2 separate regions of the Homo sapiens genome follow, and region 2 is linked to region 1. Evidence: promoter capture Hi-C in human tissues and cell types (Jung and others, 2019). All regions are on one chromosome and are shown on one strand. The core of a region is centred on a gene start or on the middle of the fragment in contact, and the rest is flanking DNA. Distances in the headings are between cores, read along the strand shown. Region 1 holds the start of EPN3 (epsin 3). Region 2 holds the start of SGCA (sarcoglycan alpha).

Evidence for each region. Contacts are between HindIII fragments. The study calls those that stand out against the background at their distance.
Region 2: the fragment with the promoter of SGCA here is called in contact with the fragment with the promoter of EPN3 in region 1 in 1 of the 25 tissues and cell types used here (mesendoderm cells).

The regions. Positions count from the first base shown.
Region 1 is chr17:50,528,156-50,535,659 of GRCh38, reverse strand. It overlaps EPN3 (epsin 3), which reads right to left and starts at 2,925. Exons shown (of 10, transcript NM_017957.3): 1 at 2,675-2,925. MYCBPAP (MYCBP associated protein) reads right to left here. Exons shown (of 19, transcript NM_032133.6): 16 at 7,390-7,504; 17 at 6,820-6,965; 18 at 6,472-6,642; 19 at 4,159-4,333. The coding sequence ends at 4,232. RefSeq lists enhancers at 706-1,382, 1,383-2,059. The HindIII fragment of the contact is 9,890 bases long and covers 2,480-7,504 here.
Region 2 is chr17:50,159,785-50,167,288 of GRCh38, reverse strand. It overlaps SGCA (sarcoglycan alpha), which reads right to left and starts at 1,284. Exons shown (of 10, transcript NM_000023.4): 1 at 1,212-1,284. The coding sequence starts at 1,248. LOC105371818 (a long non-coding RNA gene) reads left to right here and starts at 932. Exons shown (of 4, transcript XR_934833.3): 1 at 932-1,271; 2 at 1,810-2,078; 3 at 6,141-6,268. LOC124904025 (a long non-coding RNA gene) reads right to left here. Exons shown (of 3, transcript XR_007065841.1): 3 at 6,932-7,504. RefSeq lists enhancers at 3,190-3,690, 5,507-5,801 and silencers at 5,557-5,796, 5,827-5,906. The HindIII fragment of the contact is 20,868 bases long and covers 1-7,504 here.

The DNA of each region.
Region 1 (7,504 bases), core at 1,676-4,175:
CAGAGCCGCACAGGAAGACCCAAGCCAGGAAAATCAGGGGAGACTTCCTAGAGGAGGTGGTGACAGAGCTGAGATCCAAGATCACAAGGGAAGAGTAAGGAGGAGTGAACCAGCAAGTCAGGGGAGGGCGGCTCAGAAGAAATGCTATGACCTGGGCCAGAAGGCAAGAGAGCAAGTATCGTTTGAGGAAGACTGCCCCTCAGAGTTCTGGCCACTGCCAACACTCCTGCATGCCACCCCCACGTACACATGGAAGTGTTGAGGCCAGAGAGGGGATGGGACCTGCCTGCATCATATGGCACGTAAGTGGCAGAGCCTGGACTACCATCCAGGACTCCAGAAGACTAATCCAATTCTTATTGTCAGTGTTACCCAGTTTGGTCATTATTTCATCGGATTGCTTTACTGTCTCAGTCCCACCTTCTCAGCTAGAATGGAAGCTCCCTGAGAGTAGGAACAGTCTGGGTTCTCCAAAGCCCCAAAACGCTGGACACATAGTGGACCTCTGGTACCCCAGCAGGGAGAAGAGCTGGGCCAGCCCAATTCCCCCCAGTAGCCACAGGTCCAGGCTATCTGCTGAATACAACTCCAGGCCCAAGGTCCTCCCAAAGGCCCTTTCAGAAACCAAAAGAGGAATTCCCTGACCACCACCATTCCTCCCACACTAGCACTGGTGTGTGCATGCACACACACACTGTCTGGGCCTGCAGAGCCTCCACTTCACCCGTGAACTGTCCCCCACCCACCAAACACCTTTCGGCTCCACCCTCCATCCCAGCCCGTGCCCCAACTGGTCCCCAGGCTGCCAGAAGCAGGAATCTGAAGGAGACTGTCCTCTCGCACCCGATTCCACGCTCCTTCCACCCCAGCCCCGCCAGTGCTGGGCTCAGTTCAAAGCAGCCCCACGCTTTGAAAACATGCCTTGGCAGGTTTTGTTGGGGGCCCAGAGAATAAGATACCGTGGGAGTGGGCGAGGTGGAGAGTGCCTGGCCCACAGCGCAGCCTACCTTTTGTCTGCTATCTCTTTCCTTCCAGCGGGTCGTGGGCCTTCTGTGGGAATGCCACGGCCACAACTTGTTTAACTCCTGCCCTCCCCCTTGCTAGTGACTCAGACCTGCCTTCACCTCCCCAACCCGTGGCTGGGGGTGGCAGAGTCAAGATGGGAAATAATGTGCACCAAAGCCCGCCCAGCACACGCCCCTACCGGCTGGCCGCTGGAACTAGCAGAACCAGTCGGGCACTGTGACTGCACCAGAGCCCTACCTGGACCTGGCTGCCCTGGCCCTCCGGCCTGGCCTGTGTGGGGGCACCAGCCTCTGGGAGGGGACTCTCGGTGTGGGCCCAGCGGCCCTGCCTGGACCTTTCTCACAGAAGGTGGGCATTCTCTGCACACCCCTGCAGGGGCTGGGGGGAAGGGCGGGGCCAGAAACATGGGGAGGCACCTTGATTTTCCTTCTCTGGAGTTTGAGGGGACAAGGTGAGGCTGCCCAAGCACAGAGAAGGGAGGAGGAAAGGAAGAAGCCTGCCCAAGCGCAGAGAAGGGAGGAGGAAAGGAAGAAGCCTGCCCAAGCGCAGAGAAGGGAGGAGGAAAGGAAGGAACGCGGGAACGCGGGAGGGAGCAGCTGGGAGCGCTGCCAGCAGTGTTACAAGCAAAGGGTTTTATCGAACACGATATGCCCAGAAATAAAAGGGAGTGTAACAGAAACCCAGCGGCCGATAAGGCGGTGGCGGTAGCAGCAGCAGCCCTGGGCAGCTGGGTATGGAATTACTGCAGTGACCTTGAGCCAGACCCTGTCAGGTGGAGGGAAGGGCACAGAGAGGGCAGGGCCTGAGAATTCAGAGATGACGAGAGGGCAGAGGAGGGAGGAAGCTGAGGGGATGGGAGCAGGGCCAGCAGGCGGTGGGATGGGCCACGGGGCACGGAGTATCAGCTCTCTCCTGCATACAGGGTCCCAAGGAGAACTGCGCAGTAGGGAGGGGCTGCTCTTCTCAGGGCCTGCAGGATGGGGGGATCTGGAGAGTTTCCCAAAAGTCAGGACCGAAAAATGCAGATCGCTCATCCCCAGCAAGGGTTTCGGAGAGATGGAGAGAACCCAGATCTGTCCAGTCACACGTGCATGAGTTTGCGTAAAGTCTGTGCACCCACCAGCCCAGCCCACACCCTCTTCCCGTCCTCTGCTAAGGTGGGCTCCAGCCCCTGCCTCCAAGTCAGATCCAGCCTGAGCAGTGGGGAATGACAGTGCCCTTCTTGATGCTGTAAGGGACAGGGGGTGAGCTTGAACTCTAAGCTTCTGGCCACTGTAATAGCTGCATCCCGGGAGCACAGAAGATGGGGGAGGGGGGACTGCCCTGAGGCTAGAGGTGTGCATGAGGGGCTGAAGAAGAGGAAACAGCAGAGATGTGCAGAAGGAGTCTGTGGGGAATGCCACCAAAGATGCTAAGATGCCACCAAAGATGCTAAGTCCCAGGATGGTTGGGGAGGGGGCCCTGAGTCCCTTTTTGGGGGCGGCAGGGAGGGAGGGGTGGCAGGAAAGAAGCCTTTAGGTCCTCTACAGCTCAGCCTTCTCCCTCGCACCTGGAAAAGAGACTAAGCCCCAGAACCACTGTTTGCTCCCCACCAACCCCCGCCTTCCATGCCGCCACTGCCAGGGAGGGGGCCAGGGAGGAAGCTTACCTCCAGTGCGGGCTCCCTCGGCCCCAGCCCCAGCCCGAGTAGCCTCTGCGGTGACCCTCCGACCTGTGCAGCAGCGGGACGGCACAGCCTCGGGAGCGTCTCCAGAGCCATCCACCATGGACCCTCGTCCCAGAGACCCACCTGCTCCCAGGAGGTGCAGACCCCTCAGAGGGGCAGCGGCAGGGTCCCTGGAATGGGTAGCAGCTCTTCCCGCGTGCGTTTGCCTCCTAGCCAGCGCCAGGCAGCACTCCGAGGAAAGTTGCTCAGCTGGCCCGGCAGGTCTGCCTCAGCAGTAACAGGACACAGGAGGAAGTGCAGGGCAGGTTAACCCCTTCCTGCTGGCCAGGCAAGTGGTGCATTGAGAGGTGGGGGGCCTGCCTGTTGGCCGCCCCCAGGAAGTGCACATCTGGAGCCAGTGCTGGCGACCTGATCCCCTCTGCTTTGAGTTAACCCTTCCCCTGCCTCTTCAACAGGAAAGGAGGGGGGCTCCAACACCCCCACCACACCCCTCCCCTTCCTCCTCTGGGCCGGGAGGACATTAAAGGAGAGGGCAGGGACATTCCCTGGGGCTGGCTCTTTGGTGGAGCCCCCGTCTTCTCGTCTTCTTGGGGAGGAGAGCATCAGGACTCCAGCACAGCCCCCTCCCTGCCTTTCCCACACGGAGTCAGATCCTTCTGTCCATCCTCCCCCTCCTGCATCTCAGCTGGAGGATGCCTGAGGCCCACTTAAGGATGCCCACCCACCCAAAAACCAAAGTTGTTCTTCAAACTCTGGGAGCCTGGAGTGCTCTTCACACAGGGAGCCCAGCCCCAAATGGTTATGACTGACAGAAGACAATGAGGGGCCTGAGTTTGAGCTGACAATACCTTTTTTTCTGAGAGCCATTTCTAGCCTGTTTCATGTTCCCCTGAGCAAGGGAGGTAGCATGAAGATCAGCAGCTGTTTTTAAGGCAGAAAGATGGCTCAAGGCCAGATAGTTTGAGATGAGGAGGGGGATAAGGCAGACTAGACCCCGAAATAACAAGGTGATGTGGCCTCTAGAGCTGAAGAGGTGTGGTGAGCATGATCTTCAGGGACTGAATTGGGGCCCTGGGACCCAGCTGAAGAGGGGAGATGGCAGGGAGCCAGGTCCCATGGGTCTAGTTCTACTCCTCATCTCACACTTTGTCATACTTGGTGATGACACTTCGGGAAGACCTGGCTCCAGGAAGCACGACCCTGAAAGTGTGGGCCAAGGAAGCCAGAGGCAGGGACTACCAGAGGTGACACACTGTCCTGTCACCTGACTCCTTGTCTTGCTACCAATCTGCTCCTCTGCTTGGCATCCCACACATCACTTCCCCAGCTATGTCTGTCTGTCCTCCTGCAGGAGGGCTCTGGCAGCTGGCAGGAGGGGATCTGAGGGCAGGTGGAACATGGGAGGACCTGGATCAGGAGCTGACCTAGCCAAGATCCATCATGCAAGACACAGAGGCACACGGAAGTAGTAGAAACTTGAAGGTTCTTTATTGATTTATTTATTAACCCGTTTTCCAGAAGGTTGCTTGGGCCCGAGAGTCACCTGCAGAGGCGCAAAGCCTCCTCGACATTCTTTATGGGGCTGAGCTCATCAGCCAGGACCATCAGGTCAGTCACCAGGGTGTCCAGCAGCCCACGGACCTGGAAGAACGGGACAACATCACAGGCAGAGTTTACTCTGTGGGAAGCACCTATATATGAACTATGCTGTGAGAGAATAGCTGGAGAGGGGAAAGAAACCAGTTGTTTGTGAAAGAATTTCACAAGTTCAAAGTTCTTGTGAAATAATTTTTGGTTTTGCAGATTTTTTTTTTTTTTGACAGGATCTCACTCTGTCACCCAGGCTGGAGTCCAGTGGTGTGATCATGGCTCACTGCAGCCTTGACTTCCCTGGCTCAGGTGATTCTCCCATCTCAGCCTCCCAAGTAGCTGGGACTACAGGCGTGCACCACCAGACCTGGCTACTTTTTTCTATTTTTTGTAGAGATGGGGTTTCACCACATTGCCCAGGCTAGTCTCGAACTCCTGGGCTCAAGCAATCCACCTGCTTTTGCAGTTTTACTTTTCAAACCAGTCTGGGGAGGTGGCCCTGCGCTGGTACCTTTGACATATGGAGATACTAGAGCTAAGTTGTTCAAGGGGCAACTCCAGGGAGCCCATGGAGCGGTGCCCATTTAGCCGTTTGGGGTGGGCCTGGGCTCAGCCCCAGTTCTACTCTGGCCTCCTGGAGGCCAATTTTCCTTCCTGTATCCACAGACTGAAAGGTCTCTGGGACTGACCCCTCCAATGGGGTTGGATCATACAAGCCCAGACAAGTTGATTCTTTTTTTTTTCTGCAGAGATGGGGTCTCCCTGTGTTGTCTAGGCTGATGTCGAACTCCTGGGCTCAAGCAATCCACCTGCCTCAGCCTTCCAACGTGCTAGGATTACAGGTGTGAGCCACTGGCCAGCAAGTTGATTCTTTTTTTTTGGAGGTAAGAGTCTCACTCTTGTCACCCAAGCTGGAGTGAAATGGCGTGATCTCGGCTCACTGCAACCTCCACTTCCCGGGTTCAAGCGATTATTGTGCCTCAGCCACCCAAGTAGCTGGGACTACAGGTGAGTGTCACCATGCCTGGCTAATTTTTTGAATTTTTAGTAGAAACGGGATCTTACCATGTTGCCCAGGCTGGTCTTGAACTCCTGAGCTCAGGCAATCTGCCCACCTTGGCCTCCCAAAGTGCTGGGATTACAGGCACGAGCCACCGCACCTGGTCTGCAAGTTGATTCTTAATATCAAAGAGCCATGGAAGGGTTGACGTTGACCCCCATGGGTCCTCAGAGCCCTTTAATTACTTTCTAGACCCCATCAACCATCTGATATCTTAGTGATGTCACCAGTGGCAAATGGAACTTTTGATCAAATGAGATCCAGAGTGTGACCACAATACATGATGTAATCCCAGCTCCCCAGCTATCCACATTAGAGGAAGGCAAGACGTCGCCAATAGACATACTGACATATTGAAAATGGCTTTGTGGACCTCCCCTCCAAAACAAACAACAACACTAACAAACAAAACGGAAAACCTGGGTGAATTTCTAAGGACCTGCTACTTAAGAACGGATTAGGATGAAGTCTCTCTAGTCCTTCAAACTCTTACAGTTGATGGGAATGCACCCTGCATGGTGTTCTCCCAAGGAACGCATCTGCCAGGATGCACCTAACGGGGAGTAAGAAAGAGAAGGGCTTCCTTCCTCTCTGTTCCCCTAGAGTCTGTTCTCCAAAGGGCGGCCAGAGCCACCTTCTAAAGCCTATCAGACCCTATTGCGTTTCTATTCAAAACCTTGCGTGACTTCTCATTTCACTCCGAAAAATCCCAAGTCTTCACAATAGCCTGCAAACCATCCCCCACCCCTATGACCTGCTCCCCACTACTGCCCTCTCCCTTCTGGCCCCTCCCTCCTATGGCAGTTGCTCCCCATGCCTGGAGCACTCTTTACTGGACGTCTACTTGGCCACCCTTCCCCTCCCTTCAAATCTTTGTGGGTTGTCACCTCCTCACTGAGGCCTCTGTGCCTCCATTCCCTGCCTGGTCTATCTTCTCTCCCGTCGTACTCATCACCTAACATGCTAGGCGCATTCCTTATTCATGAGGCCTGTCTCACACACGAGGATGCCCTTCCTGAAGCAGCTCTGCTTCCACCATGATGGAGTGGGCACTTATTGTCTGCAGACTGAACGGAATGAATAAGGCAGGTGGGAGGCAGGGGAATGGCTGCTGGGCGCTTCCCTTCACCTCACTGTGCAGGCTCTGGGTGTATTTCCCCATGACCAGGGGGTCTATGGGTTCTTGAGAAGAGAGGATGATGTCAGGGGTAGGGTCTTCCAAAGAAAACCTGTCCTGACTTGCAGATTTTATGACTTTCTTGTCATCCTTTGCCTTGTGCTTCTTGCTGTTGGGACGGTCCTGCTGGGGGAGGGAGACACACATAGCCTTCAGGAGCTCCAGAGGTAGGCCAAGGATGTCCTCAACAGTAGCTCACTGGGAGAGCCTGGGCACATGCCCACCTCCACAGCCCCCACCTCCGCAGCCCCTCCAATCCCCTCCCCAGCCCCACCTGGCCCAGACCACGCCCCAGCATGCCTCTTTCCCGAGCAGCTTGGCTCCTTTCTTGTCTTCTTTGTCTTTGATCCCCAGTTGCTTCTTTTCCTGGGCTGCTCCTTTCCGCTCCTCCTTCCCAGCTTTCCCCACAGGTACCTTCACTTCCATGATAGGAGGTGATTTTTGATCTAAGGGAGGTGGGTGGAAGAAAATATGGCAGGCCCCCAACAGCCTAGTGGATGCTGCAGGTACGTGAGGAGGCTTGAGGGGAGGTGGAAAAGCAAAGGGCAATAGCCTTGAGCCCTGGTAGGCGCGTGGCTTCATGAAACAGGACTGTGGTGCCTATGTTCTGGTCCCAGCTCTGCCATGCCATGAATGGCCATGGATAAGTCATTTAACTTTGCTGGGATTACTAAACCAAGGTGGTCACTAAGGTAGCTTCTGGGTACCACATCCTGGCAGCGGACAGAAAGGGGTAAGGGGCCTACTCCATGGGCTCAACCTAGCAGAGCTTCCACCAAAGGAGTATGACTGGCCCAGGCACTGCTGCTTGTCCATTCAGAGAGATGAGGAGGGCTATGCAGAGGTGTGGTTGGTTGCACAAGATCTGACCTTGCTCTTCAGGCACATTCAAATAGATGGTCTCCTTCTCAGGCAGGCCCAGCACAGACCTCAGCCACATGGAATGGCCCACCAGGCTGTCAATCACATCTCGCCACAGCTGCAA
Region 2 (7,504 bases), core at 35-2,534, 370 kb after region 1:
CCTTGGAGCCCCTAAGGGACCGAGAGAAGCGCTTCCTTTGCTGCCTCCCAGGAAGGGATTGGGGTGGGGATGGGGGAGCAAGCCCTGCTGGGCTAGACATTTTAATCGTCTGGGTTTCGGGATTCGAGGGAGAACCTCTCCCACAACCTTTCCATTCCTTGTTTTAGGCCCCTATTAATGGTGCAGTGGGCAGGGACTGATGTTTGACTGGGAAGTGTGTGTGTGAGGGTGTGTGTGTGTGTGAGGGGATGTGGGGGGGTGTGTGTGTGAAGGTATGTGTGAGGGTCTGTGAGGATGTGTGTGAGGGTGTGTGTGCAAGTGAGTGTGTGTGAGAGGGTGTGTGTGAGGGTGTGTGTGTGTGAAGGTGTGTGTGGGGGGTGTGTGTTTGCGGGGGGTGTGTGGGGGTATGTGGGGGTATGTGGGGGTGTGTGTGGGGGGTGTGTGTGACGGTGTGTGGGGTGTGTGTGTGACGGTGTGTGTGAGGGTGTGTGTGTGAGGGTGTGTGAGGGTGTGTGAGGGTGTGTGTGTGAGGGTGTGTGAGGGTGTGTGAGGGTGTGTGTGAGGGTGTGTGTGTGAGGGTGCCGTGAGGGTGTGTGTGAGGGTGTGTGTGGGTGTGTGTGTGTGTGAGGGTGTGTATGTGTGAAAGGCACTGGGAAAAGAATCCCATGCTAAATGCCCAAGAGCCCAGAGGAGAGGAAGACGGGGCCAGGAGCCTACAGAGGAGGAAGGGTAGCCATTCTGGGCCTGGAGACCCCCACCTTCCTCCCCTAAAATACAGGGAAGAAGAAGGCCTGCCCTAGAGGCCAGTAGGAGCTGAGCAAAAGGAATCCTAAGTCCAAGAGAGGAGCAGAGGACCTGGCCGCCAGCTCCACCCTCCCTCCCAGGGCCAAATTTAGCCTGGGCTTAGAAGCTGCGGCCCAGCCAGCTCATTAAAGGGCCCACGACCCTTTGGGCCTGTGCTGTCAGACCCACCCGGGCCCTAGGACACCTCCAGCCCTCAGAGCTCCCAGCCCCTTCATCCCAGAGCCCAGCTCCCAGCCCCATTCCCTGGATCCCCAGCTGGCCATGGCATTAACACCCCAAAGCCCTTCTGGCGCCTGCCTCACCCAACCCAGATCCCTCTTCTGTGGGCCCTCCACACCTCCGTCTTACCACCCCTAAATCCTGCCCCCTCATCCTGGGCCTCCCCGCTGAACAAGGCCCCAACTTGCCCACGAGGAGAGGAGTCCAGAAGAGTGTCTCAGCCATGGCTGCCCGGCCTGGCCCGCCCGGTGAGTGACAGAGACAGGGGGCAGGGAGGAGAGGAGGGAAGGAGGGAGGTGGCTCGGGGCAGCTGGGTCCCAGCGTCAGCCTCCCCTCCCCGCCTGGAGCATGCACCAAATCTGGGATAGACACCCTCCTCGCACTCATTGTCCCTCCAACCGTCCCCTCCAGTGGCCACAGTGTTTTTTAAACCACCAACCAGGCCACCTCCATCCTCCCTTAAAACTCTAATGGTTCTCATGGCCCCTGAGTTCCCAGCTCATCCCCAGTTGGTGGCTTTCTGGCCTGTCCTGAACCTGGTCAGCTGGTCTAGAATCCCATCCTCTGCCCCTACCCTTCCAACCCCAGGCCCCTGCTCAGCCTCACTCCGCTCCTGCCTAGCTTGGCAGACTCTCTCAAGTCTCCAAGCCGTCGTCCAGGCTATTGCCTCTGCCTGCAGTTCCCTTCCCACCTTCATTCAAGCAGCAACCTTCCAGTCACCTTTCCAGACTCTGCACAGATGTCCTCTCCTCTCTGAAGCCTTTCTGACCTCCCTTCTTCTGCTAGGCCAAGCTGGGTGTCCCCTTAGCCCCTGCGTGCTTTCCTGGGCACAACACAATCACACAGACTGCTCCAAGCTCCTCGAAGACTAGGATCTTGTCACGTTTGTATCCTTGGGCCTGGCACAGGGCCTGGTAACTAGTAGGTGTAGCTGGCTGGCGGCAGCTTCCTTAACAGCAAACGTAGGTGCCATCCACCCAGCCTTTATCCCCAGTCCAAGCACTTCAGCGTGGAGGTCTAGCAAGCCCTGGACAGGACCAGCCAGCTAGAGACAGGTGAGCGGAGGAGGCACCCTCTCTGGCCCATGGAGTCAGGGTTCATTCGGCGCATAGACTTGGAGGCCTGGAGGTGGGCCACCTTGGCCACTTGCTGGGGATGAGGCCTTGAGTGCACCATTTGCCCTCTAGCCCATTTCCACAACTATAAACTGGCAAGAATAGTGCTTGCCTCTTGGCATCATTGTGAGGACTCCACAAAGTAATGAATGCAGCGCATATTTATGAAACACCTGCTATGTATCAGACATTGAAATTGCAAAGATAAGCAAACCTCTGCCCACATGGAGGTCACCTGCCAGTGGGTAATACCAGCTAGCGCTGCCAGCTACTGTGCTGAGAATCTTACATATATCTACCTATATTACCTCATTCCATCTCCTCAGCAGTTCCATGAGGCAGGTATTATTACTGTGCCCATTTAACAGATGATAAAACTGAGGCACAGGGGTGTATACCTTCCCCAAGGCCACATTGCTGATGAGTAGAATGCATGTGGACGGCTTAGCCCAGTGCCTGGCTCAGTCGATGACTGTGCTGCTGATGTACTTGCCCGGCCCTGCTTCCCCTTCCTTCTTGCCTCTGCCAAAGGATCTCAGTCCAGGGGCGATGGGGCGCGGTGTCCTCTCCCCAGGTCTCTCACTTAGGGCAGGCACAGGGGCACTCTCCCCAGGTGCCCTGAGAAGGGGGCGGGGACCTATGGCTGCCAGGGTTCCCAAATCCTTGGTGCCTGTGTGACCTCTCCTCCAGGGCCTCAAAAGGACAACAAAATACCCCAGGCAAGGATCACTTGGGTCCAGCCTAAGGGCACAGGTGTTGGCCTGCAGATGGGGTGACTGGTAGGCAGGTTACGCAGTCCTTGTCCCTTCCTCTCTCTCTCTCCACCTGACTGACCCGCTCATCCCTGGAGAGCCACCAAATTCCAGAGTCAGCGTCCCCTCAGGCAAGGCAGTATTTGTCCCAGCATCACCTGGCCATCTCTCTGTCTTCTCAGAGACAGAGGGAGGGAGGAAGAAAGGTTCTGGAGGCAGAGGAAGAGCCCAAGGGTTCTGGGGGAGCAGGCAGAAGTGCCAACCCCCTGGGCACCTGCCCAGCCTCACCCCTGAGCTTCTCCATGTGACTCCCCGCCCCCTGCCGTCCCCCTGGCTATTTTTGGAGCCACCCACTCAGCTGTCTTAAGGTAGCAGTGCCTGGCCCCAGTGTCACCAGGCCCACAGAGGCCAGCCTTCCTTAATGAAAAGCTGCAGCTACTTCCCCATCAGATCCTCCCTGCCCAATTCAAGGGAGCCAGGGACTGTCCCACAAGCCAGAAAGTCCCCAGAAACCCTTCTCAGGCCCCTCAGCCATCAGAGGACCTTCCCACTCAGAGCTGTCTGGATTGCAACCTGCTGCTTGTAACACACAGCACCTTCTGTCTATTGGGCCTAGGGGTGGGAAGGGAGGTCACAGGGTCTTTAAACTTCTTAGTTTGAAAAATTTGCAGCATACTATAATAAGCCCCCGTGTATCTGTCACCTGGCTTCAACAATTATCAACTCATGGCCAGTCTAGTTTCATCTGTACCCCTCCTGATTAATTTCATCCATCAATATTTCAGTGTGTATCTTTAAATGATAATGACTCTTTTTAACATAATCACATAACACGTTCAGCTATTAACATCATCAATAAAATTCCTTAATATCAAACTTCTAGTGTTCAAATTACCAATTTCTCATAAACATACATATTTTTACAGTGTATTTGTTTGACTCAAGATACAAAGAAGATACACACATTGCAACTGATTGATGATTTATAGGGCTTTTTTTTTTTTTTTTTTTGAGACAGAGTCTCGCTCTGTCACCCGGGTTGGAGTGCAGTGCCATGATCTCGGCTCACTGCCACCTCCACCTCCCAGATTCAAGCAATTCTCCTGCCTCAGCCTACAGGCACGTGCCACCATGCCCAGGGGTTTCACCATGTTGGCCAGGCTGGTCTCAAACTCCTGACCTCAAGTGATCCACCCACCTTGGCCTCACAAAGTGCTGAGATTACGGGCGTGAGCCACTGTGCCTGGCCAAGGCTCTTTTAAATTTCTTCAAATCTATAGGTTCCCATACATCCTTTCTCTCTCTTTTTTCCTTCCTCCCTTCCTTCCTTCCTTCCTTCATACTTTCCTTCCTTTCCTCCCTCCTTCCTTCCTTCCCTCCCTCCCTCCTTCTTCTTCCTTCTCTCCCTCCCTCCCTCCTTCTTCTTCCTTCTCTCCCTCCCTCCCTCCTTTCTTCCTTCCTTCCCTCCCTCCCTCCCTCCTTTCTTCCTTCCTTCCCTCCCTCCCTCTCCTTCCTTCCTTCCTTCCTTCCTTCCCTCCCTCCCTTCTCTTTCTCGTTCCTTGAAGGAGCCAGAAAATTTCTTCTGTAGTTTTTTGCCCTCTGGATTTTGCTGATTGCATCTCTATGGTGATCTTTAACATGTTCCTCCCACCTCCATACTTCCTGTACGTTGTATTTCCTGTACATTGTTACTGTAATTTGTAGTTGGATCTAGAGGCCTTATAAGGTTTATGTTCAATTTCCTTCGTTGAGACCACTTCATAGGTGGTGACAGTGTTCTTCCATTTGAAGGCACATCATGCGTTTCTGTGGTCTTAGTAGTGTCTTGCCTCCGCCATTAGCGTTTTATTTTTTGTGTGTGTGCAGAATAGTGATATTCAGATTTGATCACTCTGATCACCCCTTCCTTTATTAGCTGGAATAATTATAGACAGAAACTGCCCCTTGCGATTTGGTTACTGAGTGGGAAAGTTCGTAAAAGGAAGACGGGAGAAACGCTGGACTCTTCCTGTATTAAACAGTTTCTGAATAAAGAGCTGTTTCCCTAGCATCCTCCAAACTCTGGCCAGTCCGAGCTTCTTTGGTAGTAGTAGAATGATGATACATGGTTTACACCTATCTGACTGCTTCAGTCCATTGCAACTAGGGTCCCTTCTGGTGCTCACATTGCCTATCTTTAGCTCTCCGTTTTGTCATCCCCAGTTGGGGCGTCGGTCAGGAGAGCTGGAGGGGTCGGGGCTCGTACCCCACCTCGCACAGCTGGTGCCCTTGCCGTGCCCTAGGCTCCGCCGGTACTTCCCCGGCCTCCGCCTCACTCCTGCGGCCCAGCCCTGTCCTGAGCTAGTCGCTTCTCTGTCCTGGCCTTTTTGACATCCGCATCCGTCTCTCCAGCTTTCTGCCCCGTCTCTGCCCACCAGTGCCTAAATGTAAGCCCTCTGGTCCTTTGTCCCTGTATCTCCCCATCCCAGTGAATGTTTGCTGAATGAACGAATGACTGCTGTCCAGTGTGTCTCATTCAGCTTCAGTTTCTGTGCACCTGTCTCTAAGTCTCTTGAGGTCTGAGGCCGTGTTTTCTTTATCTGCATCTATACGTTGCCGTGAGGGACAAAGGAAAGGGCTTCTCGTCATTGTGATCTGATTCTCGCATCTGCCTCCCAGACTCCACCCACATCTTTCTCCCCTGTCCCGTACGCCGCCTCCAGCGCAACAACAAAGACTGCGACCTGGCCAGTCCGCCACGAGAGGGCGCGTTCGCTGGCGCCAGCCCGGTCTTGCGCCTGCGCGATGTTGGGACGGAGCGGGAGTCGGGGGCGGGATGCCTGCGGAGCGCGCCGCCCCGGGCTGGGGATGCGCGTCAGCAGTGCGTGCTGGGGGACGCAGTTACAGGGGGCGACGCAGGAGGGAACCCAAGGCCACGAGCTCCATCTCGTCCTCCCCTTCCCGACCCAGAAAACGCTCTAATCTACAGGGGGAGGAGAAGCCGCACGGAGGCAGGGGGCTGGACATAATGATCTCTTCCCCATCCCACCTCCACCCATCCCACCATCTGTATCAAGCCTCCGACTTCCAAGGACATTTCCATATCCCCCCAGACATTTTGGGATACCAGCCTGGAGACCTAAATGTACCCAGAATCCCCCGCCTTTTTATCGGTGGATTTCAGCCCTCAAAGCGTTCCGTGAGCCTCTGACCGCCCAAATCCATCACACATGAGTTGGAATGCCAGGGACCATTCCCGGCCAAACGTTAGATTACAGGAGTAAGAGAGAAGAGGAGGGACTGTCCGAGGTGCCTCGGCACTATGGCTGCACAGCTGGATCTCTGGACACGGAGCCCTGGACCGTTTCCACCCAGACACTCCCATTCCATCAAGTGGGGGTAAGAAGGATCAATGAGATAATGGAAGCGAAAGCGCTTTGCAAACTGTAAAGCTCTGGAGAAAGTAAGGGTGTTTTATTTATTTATAACTGACAGTGCAAGGTAATAGCTGCCCAGGGCCAGCCCACAGGCACAGCCCAAGAGCTGGAAAAGGTCAGATTTAGAAGCCACCATTCACTGATAGAAGGATTAGGAAAATAAGACCAGGCACGGGGGCTCACACCTGTAATCCCAGCACTTTGGGAGGCCGAGGTGGGTAGATCACGAGATCAGGAGTTCCAGACCAGCCTGGCCAACATGGTGAAACCCCATCTCTACTAAAAATAATTAGCTGGGCGTCGTGGTGGGCACCTGTAATCCCAGCTAATCAGGAGGCTGAGGCAGGAGAATCTCTTGAACCCGGGAGGCAGAGGTTGCAGTGAGTTGAGATCACGCCATTGCACTCCAGCCTGGGTGACAGAGCGAGACTCCGTCTCAAAAAAAAAAATTTAAAAAAGAAGGGTTAGGAAAATAAGAGGCAAAAGTCTCTGACATCTGTAGACAGCATGATTATTTATATGGAAAATCAAGAGATTCTACGGGCATATTATTAGAGTGATTAAGTGAAGTCATGCTGGACAAATGTCAACATCCAAATACAAAAAACCATATAAAATTCAGCAGTGTTTCTACGCACTAGCAATAGTTTATTAGAAATTGTAGTATCTTTCAAAAAGAAATCATTCACAATAAAATTAAAATTGTACAAAACCCAGAAAAAAATTACAAAACACATTGCAAGATATTTAGGAAGTAAAACATAGGCTACAATAGTAATAAATGGAGAGCCATAGAGAAGTATTAGGTTAAGTATGAGATGCCTCCATGTTATGAAGACGATTCTCTCCACGTTAATCTGTTGATTCATTGCAGGTCCAATAAATATTCCAACAGGATTTTTCACAGGGCTAGGCAAACTGATTCTAAAATTCATAGAGAAGAGCAAAGACCCAAGAAAAAAGTAGACAGTTCTGAAAAAGAATAAGGAAAGAGACCTGGCCCTAACAAATACCAAGACTTTTTTGAAAGCGATAGTAATTAAAACAATGTGGTATCGGTGCCGGGCTAGACAAAGGAATCAATAGAATAGAGTGCCCAGAAACAGATCCAAGTATATGTGGGAATGTGATTTATGATAGTGGCGGCACTGCAACTCAGTGAGAAAGAATAGACTTCAGTAAAATGTGTTGTGACAAT